Linked DNA regions of Homo sapiens: regions 1, 2, 3, 5, 6 and 7 are each linked to region 4. Evidence: promoter capture Hi-C in 16 types of primary human blood cells and fetal thymus (Javierre and others, 2016). All regions are on one chromosome and are shown on one strand. The core of a region is centred on a gene start or on the middle of the fragment in contact, and the rest is flanking DNA. Distances in the headings are between cores, read along the strand shown.

Region 1 (3,829 bases), core at 333-2,832, 1.6 Mb after region 4:
CATTTTAATTTTTAATTCTTTAATTATTATGGAAGCCAAACATTTTCCCAAGTGTTTGTTCACTATTTGTATTTTTCCTTGTGCAAACCATCTGTTCATATTCTTTAACCATCTGTCCAGTCAGACCTGAAATTGGCCATATAGATAATATTAATTTCCCTAATATATATAATGTTAAATGTTTACTGTTATGTGTATTACAATACTCTCGTATTTTTATCATTTTAATTTTTCTAATTTGAGAGTAATCATTTTTTGTTCTTCATCTTGTGGTATGTATGTATGTACTTAAATTTCATTCACTTGAACCTGTCAACCTTATCATTTGTTCAGTGCTAACTCCTTTTATTGCTTTTATTGTCCAAAAATTATTTTTATTTCAAAATGGATGTATGCAGTATTGTTTTATTTCGTGTGTGTGTGTGTGTGTGTGTTTGTGTATGTGTGGTAGGGAAGTTTAAACTTTCCCTCTGAAGTGAGACTGCTGAAATAAACTGACAATAGAGTAGCAGAAGAAAAAGCATACAAATGTATTAAAGTGCACATGGTCACAAGACCCCCACAAATATGAGACTCAAAGAAAGGCCAAATTGTTGAAACTTATATATCTTCTTCATAGGGAAGAGGGCGATGGCGGAAACTTAGGCAATTTTGAGGGATTGTAAATAATTTTCAGGAAAATTGAATAGGCCCAAAGAGCAGACAGTAGTTTTTGAATTATTCTTTTCGGAAGAAGAATGGGACCCACAGTTATGGGAAGGTGAGGGGCAGAACTGTACTGTGAACAAAGGTTGTCCTATTATGCATTTAATTTTTATTTAAATAGTAAATATTTAAATAATCTTAAATAAATCTTAAATAATAAAGTAATCTCTCAGAGGTGCCATCAGAAGAACAGATAAAAAGTGTTTCAGGGCATAGTGATGACTTTTAGTCTTTCCTCTTCTCCAGTAGTTAATCTTTCCTGGTTATCTGATAAGATTCCTAGTAAAGAGATCTTAAGACAACTGCACTTCTTTTGGAAGACTCAGTGGGAGAAAGCCCTTCTCTTCACTTGTGGGGAAGAAATAAAAAGTTAGAAAGTCGTTGTTTCTGAGGCAGCTTCTAAAGCTTTCCAATTTCATTTAATTCAAAAATGCTCAGCATACCAGAGCACCATACTTGGGGGGTATTGTACTCTGAGCTCTGACATGATACACATATCCACATACTACTTTTAACTCAAAAAATAATTCTTTTGAAGTGAATTATTCATCTAAGCCTTAGACGCCAAGGTTACTTCCCCTGTATTGATAGTCACTTTCCCACAAAAAATATACTGAATAATTTTATATCCCCTTGTTTCTAATAGGTTAAATATGTATTAATTTCTGGAACCTCTTATCTCTCTGGACTATTTTTTGGTTATTATTTCAATCAGAACACTGTTTTCATATCTACTCTTCCTTGATAAGCACTTTTAACATGTGAGAGGCTACTTCTCCAATATTATCTTTAACATAAAAGTCTATTTTTATCCACATTTATTTCAGTTGTTATTTTTTCAATTCCTGTAAAGTAATCCATTGGGATTATAAGTGACATAGCTTAAATCTATAAGTTGAATGTATTTTAACCTTCGTAATTTCAGCTCTTTGGTCAGCAAGTGTATCTTTCCATTTTTCACCACCCGTCATATAATTACAGACTGAAGAGAGTTGAGATATAATTTGAGTTCTAGTTCTAGGCCACCCTCCCCTGTATTCGTGTCATTTTCCAGATAATCAAACCAAGGCCCAGAGACTGGTTTGTCCAAAACATCTGTATCTGCTTAGGAGAACACCTAGAAATTGAACCCAGAGCTTATCCCATGCTATTTTTTTCTATCGAACCATTTATTTAAGTCTTCATTCACTGCCTTTAGAGCTTTAAAACTATATTTTATATATATTAGATGTTCCAGTTGGTTAGTTTCTAGGAATTCTCTAGATTGAGGTAAAACAAAAATGAGTATCGACATTGAACTTTGGGCAGATGGAAGCAGATAAAGTATTTTCAGTGCAGATTAATTGTGTAAAGCTTATTCCAGTCCCTCATTCTTTCCCAAATGGTTTTTGGTAGGGAAAAGCAAATTGGCTTTTGCACTTATCTCCCATTTTTTGGTCATTCTATCCTATCTTTTAGGGATTTTATTATCAAATTTATAGTTTGCAGAGAAGTGTGTTGGATATACAAAGAGTCAAAGTTATAGAATTTTGCCTTTCCTGAAGATTCTCACAATCAAATTCAGGACATCAGATATACACTGTGTCAACTTCATGAAACAGAAAATCCCAGTAACAGTGATTTAAACAAAATATAGATTTATTGGTCTCTCATGTAATTGGAAATCTGAAGGCAGGCAATCCAAGACTAGCATATTGACTCCACACTGTCTTCAGAATCCTGGGCTCCTTCATGTCTTCTACTTCTTTAAAATCAAGATGTGGGTCTCATCTTCATGTATACCAGAAGATTGCCAGTGCTCCAGCCATCATGACTAATTTCCAAGCAGAAACAAAAGACAGAGCAAAAGTCCAGTGCTGAGCCAGCTCCTCTTTAACTAGTTTTCCTGGTAGCTCCCAGTGATGTCTGCTCCTATCATTGCCCATAACAGCATCATATGATTGCCACCAACTACAAGGGAGCTGACAGATGTAACATTTTAGCTAGGCATATTGCTACTCTTAATAAAATCAAAGATCTGTTTGTAAGTAGAGAGAGTGGATATCGGCCAGGCAAATGATAGTCTCTACCACTCAGTGTACAAAGTAAAAGGGAAAACATAAAGTAGAGTTTTGTTCAGGCTAAGACCATGTGTCCAAGAATGTGAGGTTAATGCATGGCCTTGATGGTTAAGTTGGATTCAGATAAATGGTGGTGAGAAGAGGGGACATTTTAAGACCAGTAAGGGCTTGATCACAGATGAGGTAAAGGTCCTCCTAGCAGGTGTAAAGGAGAATGGTGGTAGGGAGGGAGGGACTTCCTCTGTGCTTAGAATGTCTTTCTGGGAGTGTGAGGATATGTAGAAATGCAAGGATAGATTGGTTATCAGCTCTGTTTACCAATTACCGTTGTCCTCATTAAATCTTCAATAACAACTAACGTTTATTAAAACCAAGTATGTACCAAAGGGTTTGCTAGGTGTTTTAACGTATGTTGTATCTAATCCTTACAATAACCCCATTTTGGGGATAAGAAAACTGATCTGTCACAGGTTGAATACTTGATCAAGCTCATGCGTCTTTTAAATTTAAGATATTCTGACTTGAATGTGTTTTACACCAGACTCCATGATTTTTTTCCCACAATGTCACAATGTTAAGTTAATTTATTAACTTTGCTTGGGATTGGGGGTGAAGGTGGGTGAGTTAAACCGGTATTCCTTGATATTTTCTAAATTCTAAACTTTAGGGGAACTTTACAAACTCTTCAACTAACTAGCAGTGTGATCATAGACAAGGTACTTATCCTCTCTGGATTTGAATTTGTTTACTTATTACTCAGATACAAAACCAGACAGATACTATAAGAGAGGAAGCTTTCAGTCCAACATCCTTCATCAACACAGACACAAAAATTCTAAAAAAATGTAATCCATGATACATAGAACATAATCCAACAATACATGAAACAAATAATAAAACTGACAAAGCAGGCTTTATTGAAGAAATACTAAGTTGGTTTAACGTTTGAAAATCAAGTAACAAACTACAAAAAGAAAATAGGAAAAAGGTATGATTATATCAGTAGCTGCAGAAAAGCATTTGACAAAAATCCAACATCCCTTCCTGATAAAAACTCTCAGTAG
Region 2 (3,448 bases), core at 594-3,093, 1.5 Mb after region 4:
GCCTTCTTCCCAAAGGACCATGAAATGTATCTTGGATGAGAAAGGGATTCAACTATAACTTAATTGGAAAAAGATCTCAAAAGTGATCTAGTCTAGCCCTCTTCCTCCAGGCTTGTGAAACTGCCTGCACAGGGCTTTGTCTAGCCTACTTTTAGATACACTCACAACACTTTTAGTCATCTGTTCCAGTATTCAGTTACTTTTGCAGGCAGTCAGCTCTCCCTTAGGTATATAGATGGATTTGCCAATCCAAATACTTCCAGGGGCCAAGATGATAATGATGGGATGAAACAGCCGAGTGTAAAGCAATCGAGATGATAAGGAACTGGATCTGTCCTGCCCAAAGGCAAGAACATCCACAAGCTTCAGGTTCCTATTTCTAATTTTATATATGTATATTGTACATGTGTGTGTTTGTGTGTGTGAAATGAGACACCGCAAACAGCTGAGAATATATTCTATCTGTATTCATTTTCGAAAATATGACCCCTGCAGATACTACTTTTTGGTCCTTAAATTATCTCACAGATAAATCCCGGCACCAAACTGTTGCCTTTGAAGGAGCTCTGCTTACAAGAACCAAGTGACCTACGGGCTGTACTCTTAATCAACAGTAAATCTTACGTGTGAGTCTCTGCAGGGAGAGGGGATGAAGGGAAGCACATACTGCTTGTTGTTGTTGTTTCTCCACCAACGTGTGAATATGCAAAGATTCCCAGACCCTTTTCTCCTGTATCTAGCACCTCCATGAAAATAAACACTGGCTCATAAACTCATAGCCCGACATGGAATAACCATGAAATAGCCACCACTGCAAATCAATGCACTCTCTGCTCTCTTTCTTTGACTCTATACTGCCAGTCAATTTCAAGTGTATTCTGAAGTCAAGGCCTCTTACCATGGAGTCATTGAAGAAAGTGTAAATAGCAGCAAACCGAGATGAATCATGTTTACAATTCTCCAGGACTATGTGCTGGAGTACAGTTACCACCCAACATTTTTCTTTGAAATAAGAAGTAAATGATAGAGCTAAAAATTAAAGCTTCCATGGTCTTCTTTAAAATGACCATGGCCGGGCACGGTGGCTGACACCTGTAATCCCAACACTTTGGGAGCCGAGGCGGGCAGATCACGAGGTCAAGAGATCGAGGCCAACATGGTGAAACCCTGTCTCTACTAAAAAATACAAAAATTAGTTGGGTGTGGTGGCGCACGCCTGTAATCCCAGCTACTCAGGAGGCTGAGGCAGGAGAATCACTTGAACCCGGGAGGCGGATGTTGCAGTGAGCTGAGATTGCACTGCCACTGCACTCTAGCCTGGCAACAGAGCAAGACTCCGTCTCAAAAAAAAAAAAAAAAAAAGAGAGAGAGCGAGAGATCGTGTATATCTATATATCCATATAGTAGTTATGTGATACATTTTATACAAATAATTTCTGTTCTAGCTTATGAAAGGCTTTATAATAGTCTTCTTGCAGTGGCTCATGCCTATAATCCCAACCCTTTGTGAGGTTGATGCAGGAGGATCCTTTGAGCTCAGGAGTTTGAGAGCAGCTTGGGCAACACGGTGAAACCCCATCTATACAAAAAATACAAAAATTAGCTGGGTATGGTAGCACATGCCTGTAGTCCCAGCTACTTGGGGGACTGAGGTGGGAGGATCGCTTGAGCCCCGGAGGTCAAGGCTGCAGTGAGCCATCATCGCACCACTGCACTCCAGCCTGGGCGATAGAGTGAGATCCTGTCTCAAAAAACAAACAAAGAAAAAATGACTTCTCCTTTATACTTTAAAAACAGTATGTCACTGTTAAAAGTCAGCTTCAGTTATGACTTTCAGAAAAAAATCTGTTTCGTGGAATAAAACCATCTGTTGACAAATAATTTTAATCTATATATAATTTTAAATGTGTAAAATTTTAGTTCTCCACCTTCATCTATGGAAGATAAATCAGATGTTGGTTATGGACGAAGTATTTCTTCTTCATCTTCCTTAAGAAGATCAAGTAAAGAAAAGAACAAGTAAGAAAATGATGTTTTATCTGTATGCAAACAGCTTCCCCTTTAATTTGAGTGTGAAAAAATGTTTTAGATTTTAGATTGGGGCAACTTGATTTTTATTCTTCTTATGGTAATACAATTGCATAATTGCCTTTTACATTGCTATGGGAAAGATCTCTGGAATAGGAGCCAGGAAATCTGGTTTCACCTTCTATTTCGCCCTGTGGACCTGCAGTGATTTGGGCCACATGACTTAGTGTCTGTGTGGGTTTCGTTTCCTTAGCTGTGGACGAAATAACACCGGGTCCCTGGCTTCATCATGGGGAAAGGAATCAAGTTATATAATGAAGTAAAAATTGTATAATGAAGTAAAAATGCCTTGTAAGCTCTAAATGCAAATGTAATGTATTGTTGTTTTCCATATGATTGAAATTGGTTGTGGTTTTTTTTCAAATGACAAGAAAAAATAGTTATCATTTTAGTGCTGGATTTGGATCTCCCATAGAAGACAAATCAGAGCCAGCTTCTGGACGAAATACTGTTCTCAGCAAAAGCGCCACCAAAGAAAAAGGATGGAGGTAAGAAAGTGTCCTGAGTTCCTCATTACCCAGCCAGGCTGGTGGAAGGGAGGGGTGGCTCTTCAGTAGGAAGCTTTCTTCTGACATCAGGGTGTTGAACCAGGCAAGACTCATGAGATGAAATTTAAAAGAAACTTGATTTTTGTCTCTTACCATCTCTTTAAAACTTACCCGGAGAGAATTGTCTTCTGGCTCTGGCCAAAAACTCTGGTCACTTGGATCACTTGTAGGAACAACAGGGTCCTACAGTCGCTTTAATTAAAACTTGGCAACAGGGACAGCAGTCTCTAATCAGTCCTTTGAAAGCCCAACCCTGGGTAACCAACTTGGTGTGAGGGTTTCTGCCTCCCACTGCTGACTTTTGCAGGTGGGGAACCCCACACCCAGATGTGTGGTCCCACGCTCTCTCCTCCCGCCCCACTTTTGCTTCCACGGCCCTCCCCACCTCCCTCACCATCTCTGACCCTCCATGGGAGAAGGAATGAGGAGGAGGAGAGGCAAATAGAGCAACGCTCTTACTTGGTTGGGACAATTATAATGTCGTTTTGAGGTCTGTGTTTTGTTTTGTTTTGTTTTCTGAGGCAGAGTCTCGCTCTGTCGCCCAGGCTGGAGTGCAGTGGCACCATCTCCCATCTTGGCTCACTGCAACCTCTGCCTCCCTGGTTCAAGCAATTCTCCTGCTTCAACCTCCTAAGTAGCTAGGATTACAGGTGTGCACCACCATGCTCGGCTAATTTTTGTATTTTTATTAGAGATGGGGTTTCACCCTGTTGGCCAGGCTGGTCTCAAACTCCTGACCTCGTGATCTGCCTGCCTTGGCCTCCCAAAGTGCTGGGATTACAAGCATGAGCCACCCTGCTCGGCCCCACATG
Region 3 (3,473 bases), core at 352-2,851, 1.6 Mb after region 4:
GTATGATTGGAAAAAGGGGGAATGATCTAACTATCATAAACTGTGGGGAAAGTTGTGATCAAGAAAATGGGCTCGCTGTCCAATGTGCACAGAAGTCAATAACTATGGCACCAGCTTTGTAGAAAAGAAAGGCTTTTTTACAAAATCAGCCAGACTGGCTCAAATCTGTCTCTGAGATGTGGGATCTGGGGGCAAGTTTTAAGGGATCAGAGAGAATGGGAAAGGATTTAGGAATGTTGGCTTGGCAGGGTCTGATTGGAGGGCTTCAAGTTTGACCATTTATGAAAAGGTATTGTATTAGTCAGGGCTCTCTAGAGGGACAGAGCTAACAGGATACATGTATATATGAAGGGGCATTTATTAAGGAGTATTGACTCACATGGTTATAAGGTGAAGTCCCACAATAGGCCATCTGCAAGCTGAGGAGCAAGGAAGCCAGCCTGAGTTCCAAAACCTCAAAAGTAGGGATGCCAACAGTGCAGCCTTCAGTCTGTGGCCAAAGGCCCGAGGGCTGCTGGCAAACTACTGGTGTGAGTCGAGAGTCCAAAAGTTGAAGAACTTGGAGTCTGATCTTCGAGGGCAGGAAGCACTGAGCACAGGAGAAAGCTGAAGGCTGGAAGACTCAGCAACTCAAGTCCTTCCACGCTCCTCTGCCTGCTTTTATCCTAGCCACGCTGGCAGCTGATTAGATGGTGCCCTCTAAGATTGAGAGTGGGTCTGCCTTTCCCAGTTCACTGACTCAAATGTTAATCTTTGGCAACACCCTCACAGACATACTCAGGAACAATACTTTGCATCCTTCAATCCAATCAAGTTGACACTCTATGTTAACCATCACAGGGATGTCGAGACAGATTTTTGCCCCAGATCTTCTGAAAGAGTTACAGCATTCAGGTTTGGGTCATGCCCTGGTCTTTTTGGTTCTAAGGGAAGGAATCATTGGTTCCAGGTGTTGTTAGAGGTCAAAGCTTTGTCTATTGTGCACGCCTGCAATTTTTGGCCCTGTTTTACCTAAAAAGTACATGGCTTGCCATTTTCGGCCCTGCTTTACCTACAAAGTAACTTGACATTTTGTTATCAACAGACTAGGCACAATTTGGGCTGGTCCTGTGGTTACAAAGTTAGCAAGACCTGTTTGTTCAGAGTGTTCTCTGTGTCCCTGTGTCTGCAGAGATAAAGACAGGTATAGAGTGGGAACTTCTCAGATGAAGGTCTTATTACCTGTTTCAGGGGAGAAGGGTGAGAAGGAGGTGAAAGAGACCTTCCTGCTTCTGCTGTTTCCTCAAATGTCAGCGTATCGTATATGGAGCAGTGTGTTCTGAACTCCATCCACACAAACACCCAAACTCATGGACTGCTCCAAAAACTACTTGGTCACAGCTCCAAAAGTTCTGTTTAATGGCTAAAAATATACTGTTTTCAAATAGTTATAATAGAAAAGAATTCTTTTCTGATGAAATCTAAAGAAGCTACATCTATTCCAAAAAATCAATCCGTGAATACAATTTGAAAATGTCTTTCTTCCACTAAAAGCAACAAGATAAAACTAAGGTTTTACTCATGCATATAAATGAAAAGTAAAAAGCCCTTTGGTTTTCTTAATTTTCTCCATTCTCTAGATATGACAATGAGTGGCCAACAGTTTTTTCCTTTTTCCCTTTTAAAGAAAATGCTGTTTCTTTTGTTTTGTCATTTTTTTTTCTGTATTGCTTCTGAAAAGTTCCAAAACCCTGAGAATATGCCAAACAAAAGTGGAAATTTTGCTCCCAGTTTCCTAGACTTTGAAAGATGGTGTTTAAGGCTCTGATTCCTTTGTCTATGTTTGCCAACCTTTCTTCTATTCTGAATGTTCTCTGACACACCTGTCCCAGTGATTCTGTGCACCTCAGGACTGCGTTTCTGTATTAACCAGAAACTCTTGGACAACAGGTCCAATGCAACTGCGAGGCATATCCAAACCAGCCCCACCCCAGCCCATAGTGCAAAATTCCTGAGGCCACAGAGCAAGTAATAACAGACACCTGATTTGCTCTCCTCTAAGTTCAAAACCTTTTTAAAAACCGTTTGAACTCTCAAATCTTTAATTAAAAATAGAAATAAAACTTATGTTAATCTTTAAATTAAAAATAGAAGAAAAGTTGTTCTCCTGTTTGAACTGCTCTAGACGGTATCACTGAGCTTCTGGAACAGAATCCTAAGTGTGCATGCAGTTGGAGCAGAAACAGGGCAGGTATGGAAGCTTGCAGCATAGACAATGTGATCTGTAGTGTTTCCTGAGCATGTGTTGAACACAAGTGAACAGTACGCGGGGTTATGAAGACATTTTTCTTATGCTAAGTGCCAGAACAGTGAGCAAGGGAAGAAAATTCTAGCACTTATCTTTACATGTTAAACATTATGTGATGGAGGCTGTTTTTATAAAGGTTAGCCTAGTCTAGGTGGTTGACTCTGATGTAGTTTCATCCTGTATCATGTAATCTCAGATTTCTGAACAAGCTCTCCTGCAAATATGGGTGAGAGACCAATCTGAGGATTGTGTCTCATCAACCAGTGGAACTTACCCTCTCACTACACCCCCTCCCCTCTTTCATCATTTATTTGCAAAACAACTCTGAAGAACTTATCATCTGATAATCACACTAAGAATTCACTTAAAAGGGATTATAGTATCCTAGAAAATAGATTCTTCTCTCTGCTTCAAATAGTCTACTTACAGCTTATTCAGAGTTCACTTATATGAGTGACCCATTTACTTTTTATTTTTTATTTTTCCAGAAAGAATTTTTATTATCTTCCCTATTGCATAGATACCATCACTAAAGGTAGAAATAACAAGTCATAATATTCTTACAGCAACCAAAGGATTCCTAGAGCAAATGAGGGTTTCAAATCTACAGTTAATGAAACAAAGGCTTGTGCTACAATTAGGTTCAATAATACTATAATAGAGTTTTAGGGCTTGACGGATTCCTAGAGTCCATTTTGTTCAACCTTATTTTACAGCGAGGGAAAAACTGAGGCCCAGTGGAGCAAAGTGATTTGCCCCAGGTCTTTTTTATAAACTCCCGGCAATGCTGATTCAGAATACAGGTCTCAGCACTCCCAAGGAAGTTATTTTCCTACTGAAACCACCGTTGCAAAAGTTATGACAGTGAGGAAAATTTGACATAGGAAAATCATGACAGTAAAATAAATCTGACCTAACCAACTCTATCTTGCTTCTAATCTCTGAGCTGCCCTTGTTTGTTCCTGGGCATAGGCAGAACTAACTTTGGGAGGAATTTAGTTTTTAGTTTAACTTTGCAACAAAGATGATAACAGCCCCTCCCCAAACAAACCCCCTCCTTACTTGGTAACCAGACCACCTTTGTAAAACCAACAAATTAGCCACAAGATTAGAAGTTATGGCCCAGAAGTCATGCAGCCTGTGTTAAGCCATTCTTGCATTGCTATAAAGAAATACTGGAGGCTGG
Region 4 (3,610 bases), core at 567-3,066:
GGTTGTGGATGTGCCAGTCCTCCGCGACCCTTTCCTGCTGGCCTTCTGCTTTTTATAAACGAAAATAAAAGTTTGATTTAGGCTTAAAGAAATGTCATTCTGGTCGTTCCTCCCTGAAGCGGGACTTACTCAACCTCATATACTCGCCCGGAATTTTCAATCTCGCCTGTCGAAATCGCTAGCTGCGCATCCGCGGAAGAAGTCCTGGATGAGAGGTAGGGTGAAGGGATCAAGCAGATAGCAGCAGGCATCAGCACACTCCGGCCGTTCCGGACGGTCAGGCCCGCCGCTACAGGGAGAAGTGCGGCGGATGGAGCCAGGGCTGCGGGTTGCGCGCGGGCTGGGAACCCGGTGGTGCCACCTTAAGAGTCGGGTCCGCGCAGCGGCTGCGGAGGCGCCCGGCACCTGCAGGGGGCGCTGCTGCCCCGTGGTTTCTCCCGCGCCGCCGCGTGCAGCGGGCCTGGCAGCTCCGGGGCCCCGGTCCCCGGAGGGGGTGGGGACGCTGGGGGAGGAAGGGAGCGAAGTGCAGCCGTTAGGTAACGAACCCGAACCCTCCCGGATTCAGAAGCGGCCTCAGTGAGGCGTTTGCTGGAGGGAGCTTTCCATCATTCGGCCGCGAGAGGAAACGTGGGGAGGCGCCCTCCCCTGCCCCCACCGCCTGCCTTCCTGCCTCCCTCCACCTCCGCTCCCCGACCCCGACCGTGCTTCCCAGACCCTTTGTTCTCGAGGTTGGGAACGGCTGGGTGGGGGTTCCCCGGGGAAGAGGTCCCCCGCGCCGCTCGGAGGGGAAGGGACTGTCGCCTGCCCCGCACCCCAGCCCTCCCCAGTGCCGTCCCCCTTTCCCCCGGCCCCTTCCATCGCGTCCACGCGCTTCCGTTCTCACTCGGACTCCCCCAACTCCCGAGCTCCGGCTCCCCAGCCTGCACGGTCTGCAAGCCCGCCTCCCTTCCCACTTCCCCGCCACCTCTGAGGTCCCCGGGAAGAGGGGAGGAGAGGGAGACGTGTGGGGGAGGAGAAACCACAGAGCCTTCTCGGCGCGGAGCATTCCCAGGGACCCTTCCAGGCCCCGACCCCTGGGACCCGCTGCAGAGGCAGGGCTTTCCCGGCGCCGCCGCAGGTCGCTAGGGCCGCCCCCGCCGCGTCGCCCTGGGGCCCACGGGTGCACGGCCCGGGCAGCAAGGCAAGGTGCGGCCTCTCAGCGCCAGGACCCGAGACCCCCAGCTGGAGAGAAGGGGACACCGTGGTCCGCGCCCTGGGGAGGCTAATTGCACACGAACGCCCCCCTCTTCCCCGCCCCCCACCGTACCCTCTGCAGCGCCACCCGCGTCGCCTCTCCGCCGTGCGCCACCCTGAGGGCTCCCGCGATTGCATCTTCTTGAGCACAGTTACCAATGCGTTCAGCTTCGTTTCTTACTCGGATGGAGACATCGCGGAGGGAAGCGAGGGGACAGGGATGCGGTAGTAGGGGAAAGGTGGGGCGGGAAACCGAGCAGAGAGGTGGGAGACTTGGCTGAGGCAATGGCACCAGGCAGGGCCGCCCGGAGTCCCGAGTCCAGGTCCGCGAGGCAGGCCCCGGTGCAGCCGCGCCCCGGCCGAACCCTACATGTCCTCTGTACTGTGGACACGAGTCCGCGGAGCGCCAGTCACACCCCCGCACCCCTGCAAGCTCCCGCCGTAGAGGGGGCTCGGCACCATCCTGGTCACAAAGTACGTGCCCCCACCCCCCACCCCCAGGTGAAGAGGACGCAGCCCGGCGCCGTCAGCTCCAGGCTGCCTGGAGCCCCCTCCGGCCTCTCGGCGCGACCCTGGTCCTCAATGGCTCGTCGCGAGCTGCGCTAGCTGCTCTCTCGGCAGCGGGTTCCCCAGGACACACCCAGTCCCCACCCCCCGAGAGCTGGCGGCCAGCTCAGGATGCCAGGCGGCCAGGCGGGCGCCCTGCCAAATTCCGCGTTCCTCTCCAGGAGACGGGGAGTTGCGTCCCAGGCTCGGGAAAGCCCGCAGTTCGGGCTTGGGACTCGCTTACAAAGCCCCCCAAGGCGCCAGGGACGCCTCTGCAGGTTGAATTCCTGCTCCGTATCACTTCAATTTTAATTAATCTTTTAAAACACCGCTGTCACGTCGCTTGCAGAAAATTAATCAAACTTGAATCCTTGTTGCATAGCAAGAATTTCGATCCGAGTCTTTTAAAAAGGACTTGACTTTGCAAAGTCACGTCTTTTACAGTTCCCTCATTCCCCCTTTAGCAAGGGAAATACTGCAAAAGTCAAGACATGTTTGTTTGGTTCTTTCTATCTTCAAAATGAAACTTTGCTTATTTCTGATCTTTATTTTCCTGTCTTTGAACAAAAAAAAATAACGAGATAAATTGCCTACCTCGATTAATTCAAAGTATAATTACTTTGAATGATCTTTGTTTAAGAGCCCAGATAAACTAAGATAATCTTAATTTTAATGTGACACGACCCCTATTTTTCCTTGTGAATAATGAGAATAAAGCAGTCATTAATTAATACCAAGATATCTCCATAGAAGATGGTATCTGTTCTCGCTGAGACACTGAAACATCAGTTGTATTAGTAATTGATACTGTATAATTGAACATGAAGATAGCCGTCTATTTTTAACCTCCAAGCTCAGAGTTTATTTGGTGATTATTGAGCTCCTAATAATTAATTTTTTTCCTTCTTACTGCATAAATAATTCTTACGACTCCCAGTTCCCATGCAATGCAGAGGCTTCTCATTAAAACCTACCCCTCAAAATATAAGATTGTGAAGCTATATTGTGCAGCAACTCCTTCTATTTCATTATTTGTAACATATTTCCTCTATTTCATATCTTCCTGGTGCATTTCCTTTGCTGTGATTTTCCTACTAAATCTATGAGAATATAACTATAACATCTTTTACCATAGCTTTGTCTTTCTGTGATCTCTTGGTTCAGTTTAATACACAATACTTAAGACTTCAATTTTTCAAGTTACTAAAATTTGAGGATGAGTTCCACTGAAGAATCAAAAATACTTGTATAGTGAAGTTGCCATGGATTATATTCCCAACCTAACACACAGTCCACTTTAACTCACACTTTTCTGTTGTTAAAAATAGACTTTGCTCAAACACATTCCCTTTTTCCAACTTGAGTTGAAGAGAGTTCTCACAATTTCCTGGGTTAAATGTACATGCTAACACAACCTTTGACATTAAAAAACAAATTCCCCTCCCGCGTTGGAGAGAAGTCTTCCAAACAGTCATGGAAATTTAGACTGTAGCTTTAAGGTATCTAATTATTTCTTAGCCTCAGTTATTTTGGGGCATCAGAATGATCTTCACTTTTTAAGTGGAAATGGTTATGATATTTTTCTCATACATACAAAAAACTCTCTACTTATTTTTCCAATAAAGTGTCTCCCAAGTATGACATGTTGTATACCACACAAATATTCTTAGTACCTCCGCTACCAAATCCATGCATTTTCCCTGTCAGTGCTCTATCTAAAATTCTGGAAAGTATAGAGGGTTTCCACTTTTATTTCCCCCTTAGTACAATTAAAACTTTAGGTCAATATATAACGGAGTGATTCTCTGCACTTGGATTTTATATTTTCCCA
Region 5 (3,784 bases), core at 928-3,427, 1.5 Mb after region 4:
ATCCATACATATAGGTAGGATTTAGCATTGTTAAAAGTAGCTTTTTTGCCCAGTGGAAAAATGATAGCCTATTCGGTAACTGGTTTGGGGAAAATTATAATCTTGAGAAGGGAGATTCTATTTATGCCAGAAAAACTAGAAGTCATAAAAGAACATATATGACAAGTTTGGCTACATAAAACTCTTAAATTCCTGTCAGCAAAATACACTGTAAGCAAAATTATTGACAGGGAGAAAAAAAAACAGCATATTTAACAAGCAAAATGTTAACATTCTCAATAAGCAAAGATCTTCTAAAAATCAATAAGAAAAAGACAATACACTTGGAAAATAAACAGAGTTGGCAACACTTTTCTATAGGGGTAATAATCCTCAGATCTCAGTGGCTTAGGTCTTTTATCACATTACATATCAAACATAGGTCAATAGTGGGAGCTCGGTTCCACACAGTCATTCAAGAACCCAGGCTGACAGAAGTTCCTCCATTTTGTACCTGCAGCATCTGGAATACAAGATCTCCTCAGTTGCTACAGCGAGAGGGAAAAGTGCTAAGGATATCCTTCAGGAATTATATGCTTTGGCCTGGAATAATGTGCAATTTGGTCAGAACTAGACCCAAACCATATGGGGTAATATCTGAAACTATAGAGATTTTAGTCAGAATCCTGGGTGTCCCTTAAAACCCTGGCAACTGTTGTGGTTGTGACATTTCAAGACAATTTATATAAAGTAACTTGTAGTTGTTCTGTCAGATCCAAAATCCAGAGTTTTACTTCTGGAGATCAAAACATTTCATTAAAATTAATAACTAACTTTTAAAAATAGCTGTTAATTAAATGGAAAATGGACAGTTAAATAAAATCCGTTTCACAAGCTTTGATCTTTAAGCAAGCATCATAAATGAGAATTGAAGTTTGCACTGTGCTTTTCGTAAGTACACATCAAATGTGTTTAATACTTTTAATAAGTACACATCAAATGTATTATTTCCTTGCCAAAGAAGCAGAACTTCATCCATGAAAAATACTTTTCCAGAAGCTCAAAATAACATGTAAAATCGAATGGATTATTATTTTTTGAGGCAGGGTCACTCTGTCACGCAGGCTGGAATGCAGTGGCACAGTCATAACTCACTGCAGCCTCGACCTCCCAGGGCTCAGGTGATCCTCCCATCTCATAAGTAATTATGGTTTTTGTCATTACTTTTAATGGCAAGTAACTTGTTTCTCAGCAAGATATCTCTTACAGTATTCCCCTGCCAGAGCTGGCAATCTGGAGATGAGGAATGGGGTTTCAAGAGATGGTGCATTTTTCCTTAGAACTATCTAGAGAGAGGCTGTATTTACATGCTCTTTTTTTGTTTGTTTGTTTGTTTTTTGAGACAGAGTCTCACTCTGTTGCCCAGGCTGGAGTGCAGTGGTGCCATCTCGGTTCACTGCAACCTCCATCTCCCGGGTTCAAGCTATTCTCCTGCCTCAGCCTCTCGAGTAGCTGGGATTACAGGCGTCTGCCACCACACCCAGCTAATTTTTATATTTTTAGTAGAGATGGGGTTTTGCCATGTTGGCCAGGCTGGTCTCAAACTCCTGACCTCAGGTGATCCACCCACCCCGGCCTCCCAAAGCGCTGGGATTACAGGCGTGAGCCACCACACCCTGCCACTGTTTGTTTTTAAACTCAACTGAATACGGGGGTAGGATGAACTTACTAAACACTATATGGAAAAATATCACTGTTCTTGGTATATTCTAGGAACAATACATAGTGTCAAGTCACTTATTTAGGGATTAATATTTAAAAGTCCTATTCTTTATTTAAAATTACCTGAGTAGTATTATATAGATCACTAGCAAAAGCTTTGCTTAGGTTTATCATTTTAAAGCCATGAATATAATTAGTTTAATAATAAAAGTGGACTTCATTTCCAAGGACAATCATCAAGGTGTCAGGTGGGACTATATTAATATAGTGAATTCAAATAAAGTTCTTGTGGAACTCACACAGTACAAGAGACCTGTAGGATCTACCAATAAATAAACCACAAATCACAATTTAAAAAATAAAAAGCATTGTTGGAAAAGGTAAAGAAATTTTCTTGTGGTGATTTTACTTATAAATTCAATAAGCCTTTATTATTGAGAATTAAAATAATAGCAGGGATTAAAAAATTCAATGTCTTTATTATTGAGAAGCAATATAATAGCACCTCTTTAGAATCAGAGCTGAGATCAAGTTCTGTCTCTCACTTTTTCTAGCCGTGTGACCTTGAGAGAATTACTTAACCTCTATCTCCCTCAGTTAGTCTTCTGGAAAGTAAGGAAAAATAATAGCAAATATTTATATATTGTTTACGATGTGCCAGAGGCTGTTCTTTGTAGTTTCAACTCTTGGAGTAATCCTGTGATGCATAGGTAGGACTACCCACAGTTAACAAGTGAGAAAACCCAGGCACAGAGAGGTTAAGTAATTTGCCCAAGATTGTCCAGCTAGTAAGCGGCAAAGCTTTCAATTTAAACACAGTTTGGCTTCAGAGGCCATGCTTCCAACCTATATGTCTCATAAAGCTGTTGTGAGGGTGAAATAAGACCATGCATATAAATGACAGGTGGGGGATGGCATATGCATTTGTATATGTGAGTGCGTGTGTGTGTGTGTGTGTGTGTGTGTGTGTGTGTAGCTCTCTATTCTATGCACACATGATGTTCTGTTTGCCTTTAGCATGTTTTAAGGGAATTCCTCATTCTTCAAGCATTTGTCTCTCTCTTGAGATCCCTCTGTAGGGCCAGAGAGTAAATATTTCAGGTTTTGCAGGCTATTCCATCTCTACTGCAGCCACTCAACTCTGCTATTGCAGCACAAAAGCAGCATAGATAATACCTAACCAATGAAACTGTATCTACTAAAACAGGTGGGGGGCCAGATTGGCTCACGGACCATAGTTGGTCAACCCTTGCTTTAGATGATGAGCACTTTGAGGATAAGGACATGGAAAGGCTTCAGTTTACTTAGTATAATCCCTGGGCACCTTAGCTAAGTATTCAGGGGAGACTCCCACCCTGGCATTTGCCTTTCCTGGTTTCTCTGGGCTCTAAGATGGATCTGCTTGATGTTATTCCAATGGATGCCAACACAGATGCCTTATTTTTCAATAGGATGAGGACAGATTTGACCAATCTACATAAGAAAATAAACCTCCTATCTTCTATACTTTTGTTAAGAACTGTGAAGGGTCTGAGATTTTATCCTACTTGCAAGCTAACTGCCAATTTTATTGTTGCTGGAATAAGACATGAGATATCTGGATCAGAGACAAAGGATTTTATTACTCACAGCAAAGCAAGCAGCATGAGCCAGGCTATTTGTGTCAAATCTCCTTGCTCCCAAGTCTCATGGGGAAAACATGGATAGACCCAGATGGATGCCTATCAATGCAGTGGTTTGTGTTACAGAAGAACTCTGAGCTTAGAGAACCCAAATCCTTTATAGTGAGCAGCAAGGGCCAGGCGCAGTGGCTCACACCTATAATCCCAGCACTTTGGGAGGCTGAGATGGGTGGATCATCTGAGGTTGAAAGTTCGAGATCAGCCTGACCAACATGAAGAAACCCCATCTCTACTAAAAATACAAAATTAGCTGGCCATGGTGGCGCATGCCTGTAACCCCAGCTACTCAGGAGGCTGAGGCAGGAGAATTGCTTGAACCTGGGAGGTGGAGGTTGCAGTGAGCTGAGATGGCGCCATTGCACTCCAGCCTGGGCAACAAGAGTGAAACTGTCTCAAAAAAA
Region 6 (4,015 bases), core at 870-3,369, 1.5 Mb after region 4:
TGTTCAGAACTAATAAAGATTAGTATAAATGTTGGCTAGACAGTTTTCAAAAGATGCAATTATCTTAGGAAATAAAATGCAATGAACAAAATAAAAATATACACAGTAATAACTACAATTATTTTAATAACTATAGAGAAGTGAGAACTGAAGTTTTGTTACAGTAAATGCATGATCATAAGTCCCTTGTTTACACATAGATCACACTAACTCTGATTCTTCATAATTATTCCATGTCATCCCCATGAAGAACTGAGTGATTTACCTAAATCTTAGAGACCCTTTTATTACCATTTCTTTGCTTTTTATTTTTTATTTTTTGTACCCCTTTTGACTTTCCATGACAGCAGTGACCCAAGAAAGTTCTAAATGTTAGCACATATAGTGGTGACTGAAAAATTAATTGATTGATTACTGGCCCATTGCCAGCTTCTACAATACCAGAGACAAAAAGCTCTTCCCCAGAAACTGTCTTGCTGTTGTGTTCCCTATGGTCAGGACCGCACAAGGGAATGATGAAATTGTAAGCAGTACACTCCAAAGGGACTCCACAAACAGATAGAATGCCCCCAAATTATATGGATGTGCATTTGAGTGCTTTGGGAAGCTTAGAATGTCCTCGTTATATATGGATAACTTGTCATTTTGTATTATCAGTATTAAACATTCTTTTCGCTAATATAGAAATAAAGCATTGACTAATTTTAATACTTATTAGAATTATTCATGGAGTATCATGCCTGAGAATGCCATGCAATTTGTAGAGAAAACTTTAGAACGTATGCCACATACAGAACTTCACACAGTGTTTCAAGAAAAGTCAATACTTCATCTAGTGCTTCAACAAAAATCAGTGCTGCATTTACTCACAGTGACCAAAGTCCTTTATCAATCATTTCAGTATTGTCAGGGAGGGGCATGATCTTAATGATTTCCTGGAATGTTAAGTTTCTCCAGCAGAAATAGAAAGCACTTTTCAAACCTTTTGAAAAATTTCTCTCCCATTCAGTAAAGTTGGTGGGAAGATAATGTATTGTGTATTTATTGTTACCATTTCTTTTATTCTATTGATTTTAGGCTAATGGTTTCTCCTTAGAATTGCCTATATTTCATAGTGGAATGAAGGCTGAGTGCAGTGAATGATGATGGTCATTTTGAAGGGGGGAAAAATCTCTTAAAGTTAGCAAAATACAAACCACAAGTTCCACTTTTCCTTCTCCATCCCTGTACAGGAAGAGATGAAATGGCTAGACATGTGTCCCATCACCCTTTGAAAAATAAATGTTAACACCCTATTCTTAGAACACACTTCTTGGCCAGTTACACAGACCCACTTACATAAGTAATCCTGTCATTGAGAATACTTTTTACTAAAGAAGCATTGACCATAGAGATAATCCACAGTGATTTACAAAATTAAAACGTAGTCCCATGAAAAATGCAAGTTCGTGTTGTAGACTTGATGTATAGGTTGCATTTAATATTGCTAAGGTTGTACAGCTATTGTCTTTGTTGCATAGGGTTTTTCATTTTCGGAGAGTTCCATTTTCTAACAATGCAAGGAACTGCGTCTTCATACTGACCCCTAGTGGCCGATTAGGAGGACGTTGGGGGAGGGGCAAAAAAGGTAATGGAAGGATGGTTCTGTAGTTTAATGAAACGTACGTTAATTTAATTTGGAACACTCTCCAGTGTATCTAAGATAATATTTCCAAAACATTTTTAAAAGATTCCGATCTGAAAATCATTTCAACATGCTGCTTTTAGAGATAATATTCTACTGCTAAACGTGTGTTTAACAGATGCTTGTGTTTGACTTTGTCCCCTATTAAGGTGTAGTCATTTACAAATGTTTTGACGCATTCATTGTACCGGTAGCTGGACATCTTCTGTGCTATATAACCAGATAGGATAAATGTAATACTCTTGAACAACATAATCTAAGAAATCTCATTGCTATTATGGTTTCTCTAGAGTCGATTTTTTGCTCTTGACTTTGTATAATAGATTTTGTTTTACATTCTTATTTATATCACTTTGTTGTAAAATTCTAGATCCTTTGAATTAGAATACTCACAAGATGAGTATCTTGCAAGATAGCTAATTTCATAAGTTTTTAGGAGGTTTTGTTTTGTATTAAGGATGAGCTCTGGAAGAATGTATTTAACATGTTAATTAATGCCTTAAAAGTCCTCTGGAATTAATAGATAAAATAAATGGGAAAAGTCCTCATGGTAAACCTGAGAATTATTCTTGCATTATTTCTGTCCAAGTTTACTGAGTGGATGCTTTTCTTTCTGCCCCTTAGAGCCTAGATTCCTCCCTGTCTGATGGAATCTTATTCTAAACATTGGTTATACTGGATTGGAAAAATCATACTGAATTTGGAAAACAGAGAATGAAAAGCTGAATTTTGCAATAGAACAAGTGGATTCCCTATCCCCATTTCATGTCAGTGGATGCCCACCTGACCTTGACTAACAGTTTGAATTTGATTAGCTACTGATTTTGTGAGGCCAAGTGAATCCCATAAAATGTTCAATTAGAAAATTATCCATGCTACTTTTATTACCTACAGTGCAGAGACTGATATTTGCATAACCTCGTTTTAAAGTTGCTAGTACTCTCTTTCAGGTTTAATTTCCAACATTACTGATTTTCAGAGGAAATCTTTATATTGTGTGATTTCCCCCCCCCACTTCCAATTTGAAGCATACTTAAACCTATATAAGGTTATTTTTACCAACCCTTGACTTTTTATGTTAATCATTTCTCTTGATTTTTCTTCACACTGGAAATGGTCCTTACCACTCATTGATTACACTTGAGTGAAAGGCTTGAGTAGGATTTCTGAGGAAACTGCCCCAGCTCTAGCTCTGCAGGTGTAGGAGATTTTGCTGTTTAGCTAAAAATTGTCTGAAAATGAAATTTTCATGCACACACACAAGTTTTACAATATGATCTTACGTTTCCATGATCTGAAACTCTCTACCCTTGTGGCTCACTGAATGTTAAGAGGATGATGATGTTGTTGAAAGCTAGCAGTTATCGGCCAGGTATTAAGCTAAGTCCTTGAGTGGAATATATCATTAAATCCCAGAGCAGTCCTATGGGGGAAGGAATATTATTGTCATGCCCATTTTGCAGATGAGGAAACCAAGGCCCGGTGCTTACTCACAGTCACAGAGGTGGTCTGTTCTGTAGGTCCCCAGGGAGCTGGTAGGAGCTGAACCTCTTACTCTCCACCCCGGCAACTTTTCTCTCATTCTTTCCTCATCAGTGCCTCCAGGACCCTTAACTTCTCCACATTTTCCCCACCAGAAATTTCCCTTGTGCTGAAATTCATGATCTCTTTGAATTCCTCCAGCACTCCTTGTACTCACTCCAGTAGGCACCTTGAAATCATCTTTCATCCCTTCCTTTCCCTTTCTCTTTGCTTCTGACCCTCCCTCCACCTTTTTCCCCGGGTTCCTTTCCCTAGTCTCCCTTCTCCCCCTCTCTGCTTCCTCTGCCTCCTCCTCTCTGCTTCCTCTGCCTCCTCCTCCTTCTCATTTTCCATTCCCTAAGGAATGATGTCCTAAAGCAAGTAAATTCTTTTGGTTTTTGTTTTCCTGAAAATACTATACTTTTTAAAGCTTAAGAGGTTGAAAAATGTAAAAACTAATAAATTAAAGGTCAGAAAACCATGTGTTTGTTTTTCCGGTCTCTGTTGATTAACTTACCTTTGAGCAAGTTTTAGTCTCTCTGCATCCTGTCTTTTTTGACTATGAAACAAACAAGTAAAAATGAATCTATATAATCTACTGTATTTTGTGCATGTAAGAGATTACCCCCTAGCCAGTATCACAGGGAGTCTGGAATCCAGCTTCTTCCACTGGGGGCCGGATGTGATCCGTCGGTACAGCTGTTATCATTTCACCCCAAAATACAGGGAACTTACCACCTTGACTGTAGGTTTTTTTTTGTTTTTTCTTTTTTGTTTTGTTTTAGGTTTTTTTTTTGGTAATGATTCTAC
Region 7 (3,497 bases), core at 149-2,648, 1.5 Mb after region 4:
GATTTCTTCAGGACAAAGCTTTAATGCAGTAAGCAAGATTTCACCATCCAGTATGTAGTGTGCATAGAGGGGCCTCATGAGTTACATTATAAATGCCTATTTGAGAGACTGGTTGTGAAATCAAGGTTTCTTCATATTGGCAAAAGTTGGTTTACCCAGTATTCTATCAAATGGAACTTAGACATTATTCTAGCTGGTCAGTTCTCTCTTCCTTCTATCCTAGTTCTTCTTAGCTAAGTGAGACCCGAAGAGAAGTAAAATGGGGAGACACGGACAATGCCAAACCTGAAATGTTTGCGTATCTCAGCATCTCTTTGGAGAGTATTTATATGTATCAAATGTGGCTGGGTCATTCTAAGACTGTTCTCACTCATTTTGAGGTGGTGAGTTTGATGATGCCTACCCATCATGTGCCACAGTACTGGAAAGTATGCTGCAGAGTTCCTGGTACTAGAGTTCTAGTACTAGTTCCACTACTGGCATTGTAACGACCTACTTAAGTGATTTTGAGTGAACTATAACTTCTCCAGAACAATGTATATATTCGTTTACTCATGATTTCTTACTGAGTTCTCACCCAGAACAGGAAAGTAAACAGGCACTTACAATGCAGTGTTCAAAGTGATTAATGATGGAAACACAGGATCACCCAGGAAGGCTCCCAGCACAGACCTGGATCAGAAAAATATTTCTGAAATCAGTGATTAACAAGCTAGGACCTAGAGTAAATAAGATAAATTGTCTGGTCAAAGAAGGTTCAGATGGGATGGAGGAGGAGAAGTGGTTCTGAGAAGGAACAGGGTGTATAAAAGCCAGAGGAGGGATAACATGGTAAGTTCCAGAACCGAAAGTTTTCAGAATGGCCAATGACCAGAAAGCCACAGAACACTGAGCGCTCAGGCTATGGACGTGGTGAGGAGCCCAGTGCTCATGGACATTATAAGCCCAGTTAAGGATTTTGGACTTTATTTTAATGGCAACAAAGAGCCATTGAAGTTACTCAGAAGGGAGGGAACATCATGGATTTTCACTTGTTAAAGAAAGAGAACTCGTGTTGCAAAGTGGAGAAGAGATTGGAAATGTTTAGGACCAGACACAGAAGACCAAAAGGGGGTTGCTGTAGTAATCTAGGTGAGATGTGAAGGTGCCCTGAAACAGAGATGCGGTGTTCAGGACTGGCTCAAGGCACTTTGCAAGGAGAACCACCAGCACATGTGTGAGTATTTTTGAATGACTATGTTGGTTGAAAGAGGAAGAAGGCGATACCAAGGATGAGGCCAGGTTTCTGGCTTAGACAGCTAGAAGTAAAATGGTGCCACTCACAGAACTGAAGAACTCAAGAAGGGGAGCGGTTTTGCTTGAAGAAAAGGAATCAATCCTATTCTTGCTTTTTAAATTGTGGTGAAATACAAATACTATGAAATTTACCGTCTTCATCATTTTTAAGTGTACATTTCAGTGGCATTAAATGTATTCACATTTTTGTGGTGCTGTCCATCCACAGAAATCTTTTCATTTAGCAAAACTAAAAGTATACCAATTAAACAATCATTCCCACTCCTTCCTCATACAAACTCCTGGCAACCACTATTCTTTGTCTCTATGAATTTGATGACTCTAGATCCCTCATATATATGGAATCATACAGCATTTGTCCTTTTGCAAATGCATAGCACTTGGCACGATGTCCTTAAGTTTCATTCATGTTGTAGCATGTGTCACAATTTCCTCCCTTCTTAGGGCCAAAGAATATCCATTGCCTGTATAGACCACATTTTGTTTATCCTTTCAACCATGGATGGACAGTTGGTTACATCTGCCTTTTGGTTAATGTGAATAATGTTGCTAAGAATGTGGGTATACAGATATCTCTTTGAGTCCCTGATTTCAATTATTTTGGATATATACCTAGAAGTGGAGTTACTGAATCATATGGTAATTATATTTTTAGTTTTTTTTTTTTTTTTTTTGAGACAGTCTCGCTCCATCACCCAGGCTGGAGTGCAGTGGTGTGATCTCAGCTCACTGCAACCTCCACCTCCTGGCTTCCAGCGATTCTCCTGCCTCAGCCTCCTGAGTAGCTGGGACTACAGGCACGCACCACCACACCCAGCTAATTTTTGTATTTGTAGTAGAGACATGATTTCACCATGTTAGCCAAGCTGGTCTTGAACTCCTGACCTCAGGCAATCTTCCCAACTCAGCCTCTCAAAGTGCTGGGATTACAGGTGTGAGCCACCATGCCCGTCCTCTATTTTTAATTTTTTTGAGAAACTGCCATATTGTTTTCTGTAGCAGCTGTACCATTTTACATTCCCATAACCAATGCACAAGAGTTCCAATTTCTCCACATCCTGGCCCACACTTGCTATTTTCTGTTTGTTGATAGTAGCCATCCTAATGGGCGTGAGGTGCTATCTCATTGTACTTTTTATTTGCATGCCCTAATGATTAGCAACTTCAAGCATCTTTATCGTGTACTTACTGGCCACTTGCATATCTTCTTTGGAGACATCTATTCAAGTCCTTCTCCCATTTTTTGATTGGGTTGTTTTCTTGATGCTAAGTTACAGAAGTTCTTTATATATTCTGGATATTAACCCCTTATCAGATATTATTTGAAAACAGTTTCTCCCATTCTGTGGTTTGCCTTTTTACTCTGTTGATTGTGTGCTTTGATGCAAAAAGTTTTAAATTGTGGTGCATTCCAATTTATCTATTTTGTTGGCTATGCTGTTTGCTGTTGGTGTCATATCCAATAACTCATTACCAAATATCAAAGCTTTTGCCCTATGTTTTCTTCTAGGAGTTTTGTAGCTGTAGCTCTTATATTTAGGTCTTGATCCATTTTGAGTTTATTTTTATATAGGGTATAAAATTATGGTCCCAGTTCGTTCTTTTTCATGTAGACATAAATTTTTCCTAGCATCATTTGTTGAAATTGGTTATTTGTAATAGAAAGGAATTCAAGCAGATAGTCTTTAAATCCTTTCTGGCACTTAATGTTTTCTGATTCTACTTCCTTTTGTTAGTTCTAAAATAACTACATTCCAGTTTCAAGTTGTGTCTCCTGTCTTTATGTTAGAATCTAATGACTAACTGTATTTACTTCATATATGTCATCTGTGATTGTATTATGTTCCCTTCAAACATCACTTTTTCAGACCGAAGAATTCAGATCTTGTTTAGTCTCTCTCCACGCATGTCCCCAGGCCATCCTGGGATCATTTTCTTACCTCTTCAGGACTTCCTCTTGTTTATTATACCCTCCTTGAAATGTGTTGATAAGTATTACGAAAGCTATTTTAAAAGTATGCACCATCATTTTATATTATCTATAGATAGGTTGATTTATCATTATTTTCCATTTCAGTCTTATGCAGCAAGTATTTTAGTCTCTTAACTACATTAGCATATTGGGCCAACCCTTTGAGGGAAGGACCTGCAGGGAGCCCCCAGATCATCTTTCTCAGTCAGTACCCAGAGCTCAAAGTTCC

Evidence for each region. The method cuts DNA at HindIII sites, captures the fragments that hold promoters and counts their contacts. A CHiCAGO score of 5 or more calls a contact.
Region 1: a contact is called between a fragment that was not itself captured here and the fragment with the promoter of MIR1915HG in region 4, in 2 of 17 cell types (non-activated CD4 T cells and activated CD4 T cells). The highest score is 5.3, in non-activated CD4 T cells.
Region 2: a contact is called between a fragment that was not itself captured here and the fragment with the promoter of MIR1915HG in region 4, in 2 of 17 cell types (naive B cells and naive CD8 T cells). The highest score is 7.9, in naive B cells.
Region 3: a fragment that was not itself captured here is called in contact with the fragment with the promoter of MIR1915HG in region 4 in 2 of 17 cell types (neutrophils and total CD8 T cells); the score reaches 7.2 in neutrophils.
Region 5: a contact is called between a fragment that was not itself captured here and the fragment with the promoter of MIR1915HG in region 4, in 1 of 17 cell types (erythroblasts). The highest score is 5.4, in erythroblasts.
Region 6: a contact is called between a fragment that was not itself captured here and the fragment with the promoter of MIR1915HG in region 4, in 15 of 17 cell types (total CD4 T cells, total B cells, fetal thymus and 12 more). The highest score is 16.6, in total CD4 T cells.
Region 7: a fragment that was not itself captured here is called in contact with the fragment with the promoter of MIR1915HG in region 4 in 1 of 17 cell types (total B cells); the score reaches 5.9 in total B cells.

Annotation. Positions count from the first base shown.
Region 1 is chr10:23,089,098-23,092,926 of GRCh38, forward strand. The region is part of intron 1 of LOC107984215 (a long non-coding RNA gene); the gene reads right to left. Among named protein-coding and RNA genes, the nearest start is that of MSRB2, 4.6 kb to the right of the region's middle. The HindIII fragment of the contact is 948 bases long and covers 1,109-2,056 here.
Region 2 is chr10:23,006,356-23,009,803 of GRCh38, forward strand. It overlaps ARMC3 (armadillo repeat containing 3), which reads left to right. Exons shown (of 19, transcript NM_173081.5): 14 at 529-626; 15 at 1,921-2,019; 16 at 2,460-2,576. All of the region lies in intron 2 of LOC107984215 (a long non-coding RNA gene), which reads right to left. Among named protein-coding and RNA genes, the nearest start is that of ARMC3, 80 kb to the left of the region's middle. The HindIII fragment of the contact is 1,607 bases long and covers 1,041-2,647 here.
Region 3 is chr10:23,056,638-23,060,110 of GRCh38, forward strand. All of the region lies in intron 2 of LOC107984215 (a long non-coding RNA gene), which reads right to left. Among named protein-coding and RNA genes, the nearest start is that of MSRB2, 37 kb to the right of the region's middle. The HindIII fragment of the contact is 1,271 bases long and covers 967-2,237 here.
Region 4 is chr10:21,495,444-21,499,053 of GRCh38, forward strand. MIR1915HG (MIR1915 host gene) reads right to left here and starts at 1,817. Exons shown (of 2, transcript NR_160800.1): 1 at 1,307-1,817; 2 at 1-502. It overlaps MIR1915 (microRNA 1915), which reads right to left and starts at 1,198; the gene lies at 1,119-1,198. RefSeq lists silencers at 298-737, 788-837, 1,048-1,297. The HindIII fragment of the contact is 8,649 bases long and covers 1-3,610 here.
Region 5 is chr10:23,039,730-23,043,513 of GRCh38, forward strand. The region is part of intron 2 of LOC107984215 (a long non-coding RNA gene); the gene reads right to left. Among named protein-coding and RNA genes, the nearest start is that of MSRB2, 54 kb to the right of the region's middle. The HindIII fragment of the contact is 646 bases long and covers 1,855-2,500 here.
Region 6 is chr10:22,987,478-22,991,492 of GRCh38, forward strand. All of the region lies in intron 10 of ARMC3 (armadillo repeat containing 3), which reads left to right. Among named protein-coding and RNA genes, the nearest start is that of ARMC3, 61 kb to the left of the region's middle. The HindIII fragment of the contact is 3,028 bases long and covers 606-3,633 here.
Region 7 is chr10:22,969,491-22,972,987 of GRCh38, forward strand. The region is part of intron 8 of ARMC3 (armadillo repeat containing 3); the gene reads left to right. Among named protein-coding and RNA genes, the nearest start is that of ARMC3, 43 kb to the left of the region's middle. The HindIII fragment of the contact is 2,764 bases long and covers 17-2,780 here.